3 separate regions of the Homo sapiens genome follow, and regions 2 and 3 are each linked to region 1. Evidence: promoter capture Hi-C in 16 types of primary human blood cells and fetal thymus (Javierre and others, 2016). All regions are on one chromosome and are shown on one strand. The core of a region is centred on a gene start or on the middle of the fragment in contact, and the rest is flanking DNA. Distances in the headings are between cores, read along the strand shown. Region 1 holds the start of TTC36 (tetratricopeptide repeat domain 36). Region 2 overlaps SCN4B (sodium voltage-gated channel beta subunit 4). Region 3 holds the start of JAML (junction adhesion molecule like).

Region 1 (4,354 bases), core at 1,855-4,354:
CCCAGGACTCATGGCTCTGCTGTGCCTTCCATCCTGGGCTCCCTTCTCTCCTGTGACCTTAAGAACTTTGTCTGGTGGCTTTGCTGGAACATTGTCACTGTTTTCACTGTCATGCAGGGAGCCCAGCACTGTGGCCAGGATGGCAGAGACTTCCTTGTCATCATGGAGAAGTGCCAGCAGGGGACTGGGAAAAGCACTCTACCCAGACCTCACCTCCCTTCCTCCTTTTGCCCATGAACAAGATGCAGTGGCCCTAGGGGTTCCACTAGTGTCTGCTTTCCTTTATTATTGCACTGTGTGAGGTTTTTTTGTAAATCCTTGTATTCCTATTTTTTTTAAAGAAAAAAAAAAAACCTTAAGCTGCATTTGTTACTGAAATGATTAATGCACTGATGGGTCCTGAATTCACCTTGAGAAAGACCCAAAGGCCAGTCAGGGGGTGGGGGGAACTCAGCTAAATAGACCTAGTTACTGCCCTGCTAGGCCATGCTGTACTGTGAGCCCCTCCTCACTCTCTACCAACCCTAAACCCTGAGGACAGGGGAGGAACCCACAGCTTCCTTCTCCTGCCAGCTGCAGATGGTTTGCCTTGCCTTTCCACCCCCTAATTGTCAACCACAAAAATGAGAAATTCCTCTTCTAGCTCAGCCTTGAGTCCATTGCCAAATTTTCAGCACACCTGCCAGCAACTTGGGGGAATAAGCGAAGGTTTCCCTACAAGAGGGAAAGAAGGCAAAAACGGCACAGCTATCTCCAAACACATCTGAGTTCATTTCAAAAGTGACCAAGGGAATCTCCGCACAAAAGTGCAGATTGAGGAATTGTGATGGGTCATTCCCAAGAATCCCCCAAGGGGCATCCCAAATCCCTGAGGAGTAACAGCTGCAAACCTGGTCAGTTCTCAGTGAGAGCCAGCTCACTTATAGCTTTGCTGCTAGAACCTGTTGTGGCTGCATTTCCTGGTGGCCAGTGACAACTGTGTAACCAGAATAGCTGCATGGCGCTGACCCTTTGGCCGGAACTTGGTCTCTTGGCTCCCTCCTTGGCCACCCACCACCTCTCGCACAGCCCCTCTGTTTTTACACCAATAACAAGAATTAAGGGGGAAGCCCTGGCAGCTATACGTTTTCAACCAGACTCCTTTGCCGGGACCCAGCCCGCCACCCTGCTCGCCTCCGTCAAACCCCCGGCCAATGCAGTGAGCACCATGTAGCTCCCTTGATTTAAAAAAAATAAAAAATAAAAAAAAAAGGAAAAAAAAATACAACACACACACAAAAATAAAAAAAATATTCTAATGAATGTATCTTTCTAAAGGACTGACGTTCAATCAAATATCTGAAAATACTAAAGGTCAAAACCTTGTCAGATGTTAACTTCTAAGTTCGGTTTGGGATTTTTTTTTTTTAATAGAAATCAAGTTGTTTTTGTTTTTAAGGAAAAGCGGGTCATTGCAAAGGGCTGGGTGTAATTTTATGTTTCATTTCCTTCATTTTAAAGCAATACAAGGTTATGGAGCAGATGGTTTTGTGCCGAATCATGAATACTAGTCAAGTCACACACTCTGGAAACTTGCAACTTTTTGTTTGTTTTGGTTTTCAAATAAATATAAATATGATATATATAGGAACTAATATAGTAATGCACCATGTAACAAAGCCTAGTTCAGTCCATGGCTTTTAATTCTCTTAACACTATAGATAAGGATTGTGTTACAGTTGCTAGTAGCGGCAGGAAGATGTCAGGCTCACTTTCCTCTGATTCCCGAAATGGGGGGAACCTCTAACCATAAAGGAATGGTAGAACAGTCCATTCCTCGGATCAGAGAAAAATGCAGACATGGTGTCACCTGGATTTTTTTCTGCCCATGAATGTTGCCAGTCAGTACCTGTCCTCCTTGTTTCTCTATTTTTGGTTATGAATGTTGGGGTTACCACCTGCATTTAGGGGAAAATTGTGTTCTGTGCTTTCCTGGTATCTTGTTCCGAGGTACTCTAGTTCTGTCTTTCAACCAAGAAAATAGAATTGTGGTGTTTCTTTTATTGAACTTTTAACAGTCTCTTTAGTAAATACAGGTAGTTGAATAATTGTTTCAAGAGCTCAACAGATGACAAGCTTCTTTTCTAGAAATAAGACATTTTTTGACAACTTTATCATGTATAACAGATCTGTTTTTTTTCCTTGTGTTCTTCCAAGCTTCTGGTTAGAGAAAAAGAGAAAAAAAAAAAAGGAAAATGTGTCTAAAGTCCATCAGTGTTAACTCCCTGTGACAGGGATGAAGGAAAATACTTTAATAGTTCAAAAAATAATAATGCTGAAAGCTCTCTACGAAAGACTGAATGTAAAAGTAAAAAGTGTACATAGTTGTAAAAAAAAGGAGTTTTTAAACATGTTTATTTTCTATGCACTTTTTTTTATTTAAGTGATAGTTTAATTAATAAACATGTCAAGTTTATTGCTGCACATGGTTAAGCTTCCTTTTGGCTTTGGTTGGAGAGGGTGGAGAAAAGCGGGAGGGGCATGGCCTGTGACCTGGTCACAAAGTACCTTCCACAGTCCTTTACTTTAAGGTGGCATCACTAAATTATTCCCTGTAGCCCACCTTCAGGTCCACTCCACACTGGCTCTCTTGACTATTTTCTTCCTTTATTCATCAGTGATGTATGTTCAGGACCTAATTAATTGTGGATATGAGGCAGGGTCAAGAGGACAAAGGAACAGGGCCTTTACCTTCTACATAGCTCCCCTGTTTCATCCAAGGAGGTTAAGTATTGATTTTTATCGGTTTTCTCAACTGTGAATATAATAAACTGAAAGCATTTCAGGGAGAAGCTGGAGAACACCTTCTCTAGCTGCACTCCACCTTAAGGCTGAAGCTGGATTTGTTTACTGTTTCTCCTGGGGGCAGGGGCAGTTGAGAAATAACCAAGTAGTCTGCCAAGCCAGGGTCAACCCTCCAGGCCACAGGTTGAGCAAATGCTACAGCCATGGACAGGGAGACACTCCTCACGAAGGGGTGGTCCTCATCCTTTCAGATCAACTTCCTGCTGGAGGCTCCACCCTCACCACGTCCCTCCCTCTTCTCTCATCTGGAGTCACCTTTTGGGATTTTGGAGTTGAGCACCATGGGGACTCCAAATGATCAGGCAGTGCTGCAGGCCATCTTCAACCCTGACACCCCATTTGGAGACATTGTTGGATTGGACCTCGGAGAGGAAGCAGAAAAGGAAGAACGAGAAGAAGGTGGGCATTTGATCTGGAGTGTAGCTCTGCACATAGGCTGGCCTGCTGGCCTCCCGAGGTAGCAGAGAGGGAGGTGGTTTTATAAGGCCCCTTGTTCCATGATTATGATTGAGATTGGAATCAGAGAGGTTGGCTGCTCCTTAGCGCACTGATGGGGGTTTGGTAAGAGATGTCCTGCCAAGAGGAGTAAGCTGGGGTTTGTCTCTCGATCCATCAGCTCTCATGCCTCTGAACTTACCACTTAATTGACTGTATGATCCAAGCTTAACTGCCAGGTGATGTTAAACTCTCACATTTTTGTCATAACAGAGAATACCACCACCAGAACAGAAGACTGAAATAAGGCAGGGCATGGTTGCTCAGTTGAGTGGTTCCAATATAGCAAGCACAACCAGTAACCGTTAAACACTGTCACAAGCCAAGCTCCAAACTAACTCTTCCGCAGTGAGTGCGTTCACTGGCTTTTCCATTAATCCCTAATGAAGGAGTTTTTGATCCTTTGTTTCTAGAGGAGTAAAGCCTACACCTTACTAACTCAGGCCGAAACACAGAGGGATACGTCAGAAGTGATGTTCATGATCTGGGAATGTCATGGTGGCCTTTGCATAAGAGGCGGTGTAGTAGAGTAAAATGCAGACAGGAGCCAGAATGACCTGGGTTCAAATCCAAGCTCTGCAACGTATGGCCTGTTGAGGCCATACACAAAGAACTTGAGCAACTTCTTTAACAGATTGAGGAGTCTGGGCTTCATTCTCTTGGCAATGGGGAACCAACCAAGGCCCCTTCCCAGGTCTCTTGGAACTCAGGCAATGCTAGCTCCCAGCCTTAGTGACCTCATCTCCCCCTACCCCAAACACTGCAACTGACCCCTGCTGTGACCCATACCCAGTCAGCTCTGGCTCAGATCTCAGAATTCCAAAGCCTGAGGTGGCTTTTTCTTCTTGCTACCAACTGCACACCTGGCTTCTCCTGGCTCCTTCCCTGGCCCAGATGAAGTTTTCCCTCAAGCACAGCTGGAACAGTCCAAGGCCCTGGAGCTGCAGGGGGTGATGGCAGCAGAGGCTGGGGACCTCAGCACAGCCCTGGAGAGGTTTGGCCAAGCCATCTGCCT
Region 2 (3,571 bases), core at 645-3,144, 390 kb before region 1:
CTTCTGCGTGGGGTTGCTGGAAGGAGAAATGAGCACTTAGAACAGTGCCTGCCATGTAGAAAGTTCTCAACTGGCCAGGTGCGGTGGCTCACACCTGTAATCCCAGCACTTTGGGAGGCCGAGGCAGGCAGATCACTTGAGGTCAGGAGTTCGAGACCAGCCTGGCCAACATGGCAAAACCCCATCTCTACTAAAAATACAAAAATTAGCCAGGCGTGGTGGCAGGCGCCTATAGTCCCAGCTACTAGGGAGGCTGAGGCAGGAGAATCGCTTGAACCTGGGAGGCGGAGGTTGCAGTGAGCTGAGATCGTGCCACTGCACTCCAGCCTGGGCAACAGAGCGAGACTCTGTCTCAAACAAAGAAAAAAAGAAAGTTCTCAATAAAGCTTAGCTGTCACCTAGTTGTCTCAACATGGCAGGAAGCAAAGGGCACCAGGTGCTGTTCTCAGGGGTCAGTTCCCAGGCTGTGCCACGCCAGGGGGAGGGGTCCAGGCCAGCAAGGAGTATGCTGAGGACACAGAGTCCCTCTCCCCAGGGCCCCCCAGGCCTTCCTCCCTGAGCTCTCCGTGACTAGAGGTATTAAGGGAAGAACAGAGTCCATGGAAGGGGCAGAGCAGGCAGTGGGTTTGGCTTCAAGGGTGACAGGTCTAGGCAGAGTTTGGTGGGACGGAGCAGAAGACAGGAGGAAGGAGAGATGGTGAGATGGGAAGACACCTCCCGGGAGGCGTTCCACCCTGACCGCTCTGAGCTGGACATGCTCCAACTTCAGTGTGTCCCTCCTCCACAGCAGCGCCCAGGCTGGGCACACAGAACTCCCCAGGGAGCACCTGCATCCCTCTGAGCTTTCTGCTCATGAAAATGGCCAAGTTTTTCACAGCTGCTACAGCCAAACTACATCCTACCCTCACCCTGGGCTTGGGCAGCTGGGTTTGAGGCCTTTGGGAAGGACTGAATATTTTGTCCTCATTAATTTCATCTTGCAATACCTAGTTCCTAGCTCCAGCCTATCAAGATCTTCCTAGATCCCTTTTTCTTCCAACATAGTTACTAGGCTTCTGGAAGTTGATAAATGTGACATCCCTAGTGTACTTCAAATGTTAGTAATAACAATGAACAGGTGGAGCCCTGTGGAATACACTAAAGACCTCTATTCGGATGGATCCATCTCTCTCTCTCTGTCTCTCTCTCTTTCTTTCTTTCTGTCTCTGTACCTAAGGCATAGTTAACCCAGCCAATTACGACCCACCGAACTGTATTCCACGCAGTCCATAATTCTCTACTGAGAACCTACTGGGTACCAGGCACTGTGTCGGAAACGTGCACTCTCCTAGGGCATGTGACATTAAACAAGTGATTGTGACACACTGTGGTAAATAACAGGATGGGGGATGTAGGAAGGAGGGACCCAACCTAGGAAGCCTCCTCATAGGAGTCAGGGAAGCTTTTTGGAAGTATACCTTAAACTTCCAAGCTTCTTTGAAACCAAGAAAGATGAGCAGGAAAAGAGAGAGGGTAAATTCCAGACAGAGGAAACAGCACCCACGTTTCAGAATCAATGGTGAGATGTTGTCCAGTACCTCCCTGTTCTTGAGAAGCCACTGTCTCTGCTGTAATGCAGGCATTCCCCGCCACTCCAAGGACCTCCCTCAGGCTTCCCTACGGTCTGTCCCCTGCCCCCAGGCTCTTCCACCCAATCCCTCCGCCCACCATGGCCAGATCCTTTCTTCTGTGCTCTCTGATCGTGCCAGGGCCCTGCAAGCCCTCGCCAGCTCCCCTGCCGTCGGAAGTCAATCACAGCCTCGACTCCCAGGTCCCCAAGTGTCTGTCCCCAACCCCTTCTGCAGGCTTTTATTCTCCTCCCCACCACCTCACCATACAGCTCTCTCAACAAACAAAAGGCTTGTTCTCCAGACAAGCCCACTTCCCAGACTCTCTGCCTTGGCTCTCAGTGGTGCCTCCATCTGGAAGAATCTTCCCTTTACTCTCCCCAGGGCTTAAGTTATATTAATCTTGCAAGGCCTGCCACAAACACCCATTCAGCCAGAAATCCTTCCCAGAATTTCACCCTGCCCTGAACCCCCACAGCAGCATCGTATCAAACCTCTTTGCTGGCACTGATCCCCTCTACCTTGTATTACATTTATTTGTATACACATTTATTTGTATCTTGTCTTCTTTAGTTAAAGGCAGAATCTCATTCCTTCCATAATTTCCTATAGCATCTGGCACAGTGCCTCAAAAACAGCCACAAAATGAACAGATAAATGAATGAACTCTAGATATGCCCAGTGAGTCAGTAGAACATCCTGGCAATGGTTTAAGCTTTGAAGCCAAATTAGTCACAGTTCAAATCCCAGCTCTATCACTTACTAGCTGTGTGGCCTTGGGCAAGTCACTTCACTACTCTGAGCCTCACTTTGCTCAATTGTAAAATAATAATTATGGGTAGTGTATAAAATTGCCTGGTGGAATTCCTAACATATGGTAGGCATTTGATGAATGACAGGAAGTGGTATTTTCCAGAGCAATCTCCTGTTCTGCCAGTGCCTTATCAGGAGACATCTAGCATTCCTTTTTTTTTTTTCTTTTTTCTTTTTTTTTTTAAGAGACGAGCTCTTGCTAAGTTGCCCAGGCTGGACTCAAACTCCTGGGCTCAAAGCATCCTCCTGCCTCAGCCCCCCAGGGAGCTGGGACTTCAGGCACACACATCCAGCTTAGCATGTCTTGTTTTTGATGAACCCACTGTGGCTCTGAAGGACCACCGTTGTCTTTTCTAAGTGCTTTTAAACCATATATTGACAAATTTGTTCTCCATCCATTGATAGTAAGACTGGTTATGAAAAACAGAACCTAATTAAGCTCCACGCTTTTAGCCCCTCTCACGATCACCAAAACCCTCACAGCCTCTGGCCACAAGGCAGGCAGACAACCCTTGAGCTCTTCATCGACAACCCAGTTCTGGGGTCCTCCCCTGCTCCCCAGCCCCAGCGCTGCTACCTGTATGGCCCCTCCCTACCTCCAACTTCCATCCCCTCTTTCTAGAGTAAGTTCTGCCCTTTACAGCAGAATTCCCTCTTCTCAGCAGAGCAGAATGTTTCAGCAAATAGGGGCAGAGGAGTTCTCCATTCTCTGCATCTCGTGGTTACCATCACCCTCTCTGTTCCAATGGGAAGCCATCTCGTCGCATCTGTCTTGCTCAGAACACAACTTTCAAATGCCTTTTCCCTGCTCTAGTTTTGCAAGATTCACCACATGCTGCTCTGGAGCCTGTCTGATACTGTTCCAAAAATTTGGGGCCTGAGGGTTGCACCCTCCGTACCTCCCCCATCTTCCCTCCCCTTCCCCTTATAGATGTCTATTTTTATACCTGAACTTATCCTAGGGCTCCCTGGGAGGCCATATCTGCCTTTTCAAACTTTTAAAACATCACCTCCATCTGAATTTTCAGAAATTCCTAACAGAAGAATTTTGTTCCCATCTCCCTAGAAGAGTTTTCTCATTTTAGAGTCTCTGTACATGGAATCTTACATTTTCACTGATTTTTTCAAAGGCTCCTTAAGTCCTTTGGTAA
Region 3 (5,008 bases), core at 1,337-3,836, 300 kb before region 1:
CAAAAAGCCCCTGCTTTCCCTCTAAGAACTTCTCAGTCAATGGAATTTTGTCTTGATTTTCCATTTCTGTCTGTCTGTGTATTTATATGTGTTGTATGTATAGTATTTATATAAAAGAGCTCTAATTAATTGGCTTAAAGAAACTAAAATCAAACATTTTATCAGAAAAAATTGAAACTTTAATCTCTTTTAGGTCACGTGACTCTAATGATTTTTAAACATAAAGACAGTGTAAATAACATAAAAAATAAAGACAGTGTAAGTAAAGAATGTGTTTTGGTGGGAGGTTATAAGAAGGCGTGTGAATATGGTTTCTGTTAAAGAGAACGTAATTTTGTCTAGCTCAGAGGGTTTTAACTATTGGCCTCACCTAAAAGAGTAATGGGACAGCTGGGCATGGTGGCTCACGCCTGTCATCCCAGAACTTTGGGAGGCTGAGGTGGGGAGATCACTTGAGGTTAGGAGTTCCAGACCAGCCTGGCCAACATGGCAAAACCCCGTCTCTACTAAAAATACAAAAATTAATCAGGTGTGGTGGTGAGCGCCTGTAATCCCAGCTACTTGGGAGGCTGAGGCAGGAGAATCACTTGAACTCGGGAGGCGGAGGTTGCAGAGAGTCGAGATTGTGCCACTGCATGCCAGCCTAGGTGACAGAGTGAGACTCTGTCTCAAAAAAAAAAAAAAAAAAAAAGAGTAATGTGACAAAACTGATGGTTTAAGCAAGTTGAAAAGGGTTTGTGAAGGGTTAATCTCATGAAAAGTTCTGTGGGTATAAGCAGGTTGGCTAAGATTTAAAGGGGATTACTTAGTTTTTCCATAGGTCGAACACTGAAATAAAAGCACACTGATGTAGGGCCAGAATCCGGGCCCATGTGTCTGAATAATGGTTTTCTAGAGAATTTATTTGTTTAACAGAAAATTGTAAAGAATTATGAGAGGTTTGTGGACGTTTTACCTTATGGTCAAACTATGATTGTATAGATTTGTTTATAAGGTTTTATTAAGAATTGGATCTAACATTAATAATATACTAATGCAAAGGTGAAATTTTGCTTTCTCTCATAAACAAGATTTTTGCATAATATTTTAAAATAATGAGATTTTTGTTTACCTTTTAATAAACAACAGAAAAAGGAGGAGAGAGGAAATAGATTCGGTTGGCATCATGCTGTCTTTATTGCGACCTGCTTGGAAAGTTGACTCTCCCCTCTATCAGCAAGTAAAGATTTTTGCCTTTTAGAAATTTTGGAGTTATCATTTTGGCTACCTAAATGACTTGTAGTGACTCTATACTAATCTTCTCTGAGCAACTCTCCTCCATATCCTGTTGGGTAATGAGAACAAGTGGCACCCCCTCCCTCCAAAAAATCCATACCCCTTTATATTACAGAAAAGAAATCTTCAGAAAAGAGACATGCTACAATGAGACTACCATACAAGATGTGAAAGTTACCCCCCAAATTACAATATCATGAGACAAAATAAGGGAGAGCTGCTGTCTCTCAGTGTTTGTCCCTAGTAAGGACAACTAACCACTGAGCAAACGGACAACTGCACAGCCTTCTTTTACTCACAGAGTGTTGTCCACCTGCAGAGCCAAGTCCTCTCAATCTATCTGCACACTGCTGTGCACTTCTAGGCTCTCAGATGTTTTTAGGTCTACAAGTCCATATAACCACTCTAAGCCATGCGTCTTAAAATATGCCCTCATTTTCCATTGTTAAGCCATTGAATACAGACTGGTAGGTCACGTGGCTTCTGTAACACAGTCTAGGTCACATCGGTTAATGCTCTACGCGAATGGGACCCTGGAGGTCCTTACTCCTGCTCTCTTCTCCAGAGTAGGTTATACCTAAACCATCCTGCATCAGCCTTTCCCAAGGTCAGGGCTGTGCTGAGGGTGTAACAAGCATGGACAGTAGCCTAGCTTTCTTGGGAGATTTAAGTCTCGGGCTTCTAAAGGTTAAATATTGGTTTGTCTATAATGGGGAGAAGAAAAACAGTGGTATAACTATGTAAAATGATGGATATATTAATCTGCTTCACCATAGTAAACTTTTTACTATCTACATGCATCCCACAACATCATGTTGTATACCTTAAATACACACAATAAAATTTGTTTAAAAATAAAATTAAAAACTGTCTTCTAAAAAGAAAAACAGTGAAGAAAGAGCTCTGCTGTGAGCTCAAGAACAGCCAGTCACAGCTCCACCTAAACCCACGGGTGACTTAAAAGCTGAAGCCTTGTCATAATCATTGTCACGTACTCTTATTATGATGAAACTTTGCTCCTCTTTTTGCTGAGGAGATTCACCTAAGTTACTCTACACGACAGTAACTGAAACAGCACCCATTAGACTACTTTATGACATCCCCCTGCAGAGATCAAGAGTTCTGCAATCGCAGCTTCACAATCCTGAGAGACTACCAATTCAACCAGCCTTCAGGACTGGCACACTTCTGTGTGAGAAAAGTTCAAAAAATGGCTTAAGAAATTCAAAGCAACTGCTTACCCAAGATGAAGAGCACCCAGGGGAGGCAATGCACTGAAATCTCCCCACAGCTGCAGTCCCCAAGCTCAACTGAAAGACTGCTGCGAGCACTCTAGGTTAGGCTCAGAGCAAACCAAACACGTGCCTTCTGAAGTGGTTGCAGAGATGCAAACAGGAACCTCTAAATCAAGGTTCTCATTTCAGTCATCTGGCCCATTACCCAATTGTTATGTATACTTTCATTCTAAAAAGAGGTGACAAATTCAACCTACTGAGGTGAACCTCACACTCAGACCTCTTCAGGTGCCATCTCCCCTTTTAGATGACAAGCCCTCTGAGGGTAGGAGCTTGAATGGCACCAGGCAAATAGGTGCTGAGAAAGAAATCCATTTCATGCAAACAAAATACAATAAACGTAATATTAACACAAAACCTTCTGTGTTAAAGATACAGCAACCTCTTTTATTTTTCCTCTCAAAACAGAGGTGCAACCTCGCCAGGCAATCACCCAATCCCTGCTTCCAAAGATACGCCTGCCCAGTCCTCCAACTCACCATGTAGACATGAAAGTTTCCTCTGGCCATGTGATATCAGCATTTCCAGAATACAGGCAGCCATTGATTCCCATAGAGAACCTCTTGGGTGACTTGGACATCCTAGATTAGAACTCAAGGTTTCTTCACTTCAAGATACCTCTCAGTCTTAGTCACCACTTCAAAATAGGTGTTCTCAATGTACGCACCTTCAACCTCGGCTAGATTGGCTTGACCTAGGCATGGGCAGACTCATGGAACTTGTCCTGTATCATCTGAAAAGCTGTTGAACGTTTGCTCCCAAGCACTACGCTGCATGGTCCTTGAGAAGTGATGTGCTAGAGAGCCAGCAATCTCCACAGCATAAATATTCCCATCATAACCTATTTCAAGCTACCAACAGTTTAACAACTGGCTTGCAAAATTCCTAAAAAACTTAATACAGGTTGAGTATCCCTTATCCAATATGCTTGGGACCAGAAATGTTTCAGATTTCATATTTTTTTCAGATTTTAGAATATTTGCCGAATACATACAAGTTGAACGTCCCTAGTCTGAAAATCCAAAATGCTCCAATAAGCATTTCTTTGGAGCATCATGTTGGCACTCAAAGTTACAGATTTTGGAGTTGAAATAGCAACCACTCTTTTGTATTTTCAGATTAGGGGTACTCAGCCTGTAATCAGCTCTTGCTATGTAAGCTGGTTCCAGCACACCACGGAACCTCTGCAGGTTCTTGCGGGGGTACAGCTCCGACATGACTGGTTGCACGATGCTGAAAACCACTGTTAAATCAAGTTTAGCCTAAAGCTGCCTCCTTACATATTTTAAGTTTGGCCTAAAGGTTTCTCTGTACATCATGAACTATAACGTAAATGGAATAGTATACGGACTCTAGTCTACTCTTGTGCCAGTCACTGAGTTTGGCCAATCGAAGATGGCCAATGATTCAAACTATTCAAATAAGGCAAACACCGAGCTGTAACCAATCCGGCTATTTCTGTACCTCACTTCTGTTTCCTGTACATGACTTTCCTTTTGCTGTCCATAAATCTTCCACCACGTGGCTGCGCTGGAGTCTCTGAGTCCACTCTGGCTCAGGAGACTGCCTGATTCATGAATCATTCTGTGCTCAATTAAACTCTTTTAAATTTAATTCAGCTTTTAATACCACAAACCCCCATCTTTTTCACATGACAATTCCCACCTTTTATGTAGATATGCACACACCAAAAGGTAGCCAAAGGGTACAAAGAAGTTTATTGACTATGATGCAGTAAAGATACCAAGAGTTACAATATTTGTGCATATGGCCCAACAGTGCCTACCCTCCTACAAAACAAAAACAAAAACAAAAAAAGGCAATGAGGTGCAGCAGTTAACAGCCCAACACTGGAGTCAAAGGAATGGAGCTGCCTCTTCTGGCAGCAAAGTTTCAAGTTGTGCAATTAAATAATAGTCTTGGTCCACTCCTTGTGGGTCTTCTTACAGTTTCCCTTTAGAACCATAACTGAGTGACTTAGTAGAACATTCATATTCAGGATGTGGCCTCCAGAAGTGTCGTTTTGTTTTGTTTTGAACAAAGACGTGCTACCTTCTCTCTTGAAGCACCAGTGCTGGGTTCAGGAGCTACAGAGGACTAAGATGTTCCCCAAGTAGCCTGAAGTAACAGGTCACATGGAAAACACAAAGCAATTGGTGAGTCCACATTTTGTAATAGAATTAAGAGCGTAATGCATAAAACTTAAAGTCATGTAACCACATGTAAAAACTTCAGCAGCTAAAGAAAAATTCTGGAAGGCTTTTAACCCCTTCTGAACTAAGTTCCCTTTCTAAACGAGGCTGGTTTCCATGGCTGTGACAAGAGCTCATGAGGTAGCAAAAAGAGAGAGAGAATAGCACCTTAGAAGTTACTCAAACAAGAGGTGAAACAAATAAGTAAACAAAAAAAGACCACTTTATCTTCCTTTCATCCTTAAA

The links. The method cuts DNA at HindIII sites, captures the fragments that hold promoters and counts their contacts. A CHiCAGO score of 5 or more calls a contact.
Region 2: a fragment that was not itself captured here is called in contact with the fragment with the promoter of TTC36 in region 1 in 6 of 17 cell types (total CD8 T cells, neutrophils, naive CD8 T cells and 3 more); the score reaches 8.3 in total CD8 T cells.
Region 3: a contact is called between the fragment with the promoter of JAML here and the fragment with the promoter of TTC36 in region 1, in 10 of 17 cell types (naive CD8 T cells, non-activated CD4 T cells, total CD4 T cells and 7 more). The highest score is 8.8, in naive CD8 T cells.

The regions. Positions count from the first base shown.
Region 1 is chr11:118,524,370-118,528,723 of GRCh38, forward strand. TTC36 (tetratricopeptide repeat domain 36) reads left to right here and starts at 3,105. Exons shown (of 3, transcript NM_001080441.4): 1 at 3,105-3,243; 2 at 4,234-4,354. The coding sequence starts at 3,126. KMT2A (lysine methyltransferase 2A) reads left to right here. Exons shown (of 36, transcript NM_001197104.2): 36 at 1-2,463. All of the region lies in intron 1 of TTC36-AS1 (TTC36 and KMT2A antisense RNA 1), which reads right to left. The HindIII fragment of the contact is 1,033 bases long and covers 2,472-3,504 here.
Region 2 is chr11:118,137,317-118,140,887 of GRCh38, forward strand. All of the region lies in intron 4 of SCN4B (sodium voltage-gated channel beta subunit 4), which reads right to left. Among named protein-coding and RNA genes, the nearest start is that of SCN4B, 14 kb to the right of the region's middle. The HindIII fragment of the contact is 851 bases long and covers 1,470-2,320 here.
Region 3 is chr11:118,222,425-118,227,432 of GRCh38, forward strand. JAML (junction adhesion molecule like) reads right to left here and starts at 2,587. Exons shown (of 10, transcript NM_001098526.2): 1 at 2,517-2,587. MPZL3 (myelin protein zero like 3) reads right to left here. Exons shown (of 6, transcript NM_198275.3): 6 at 4,266-5,008. The HindIII fragment of the contact is 17,664 bases long and covers 1-5,008 here.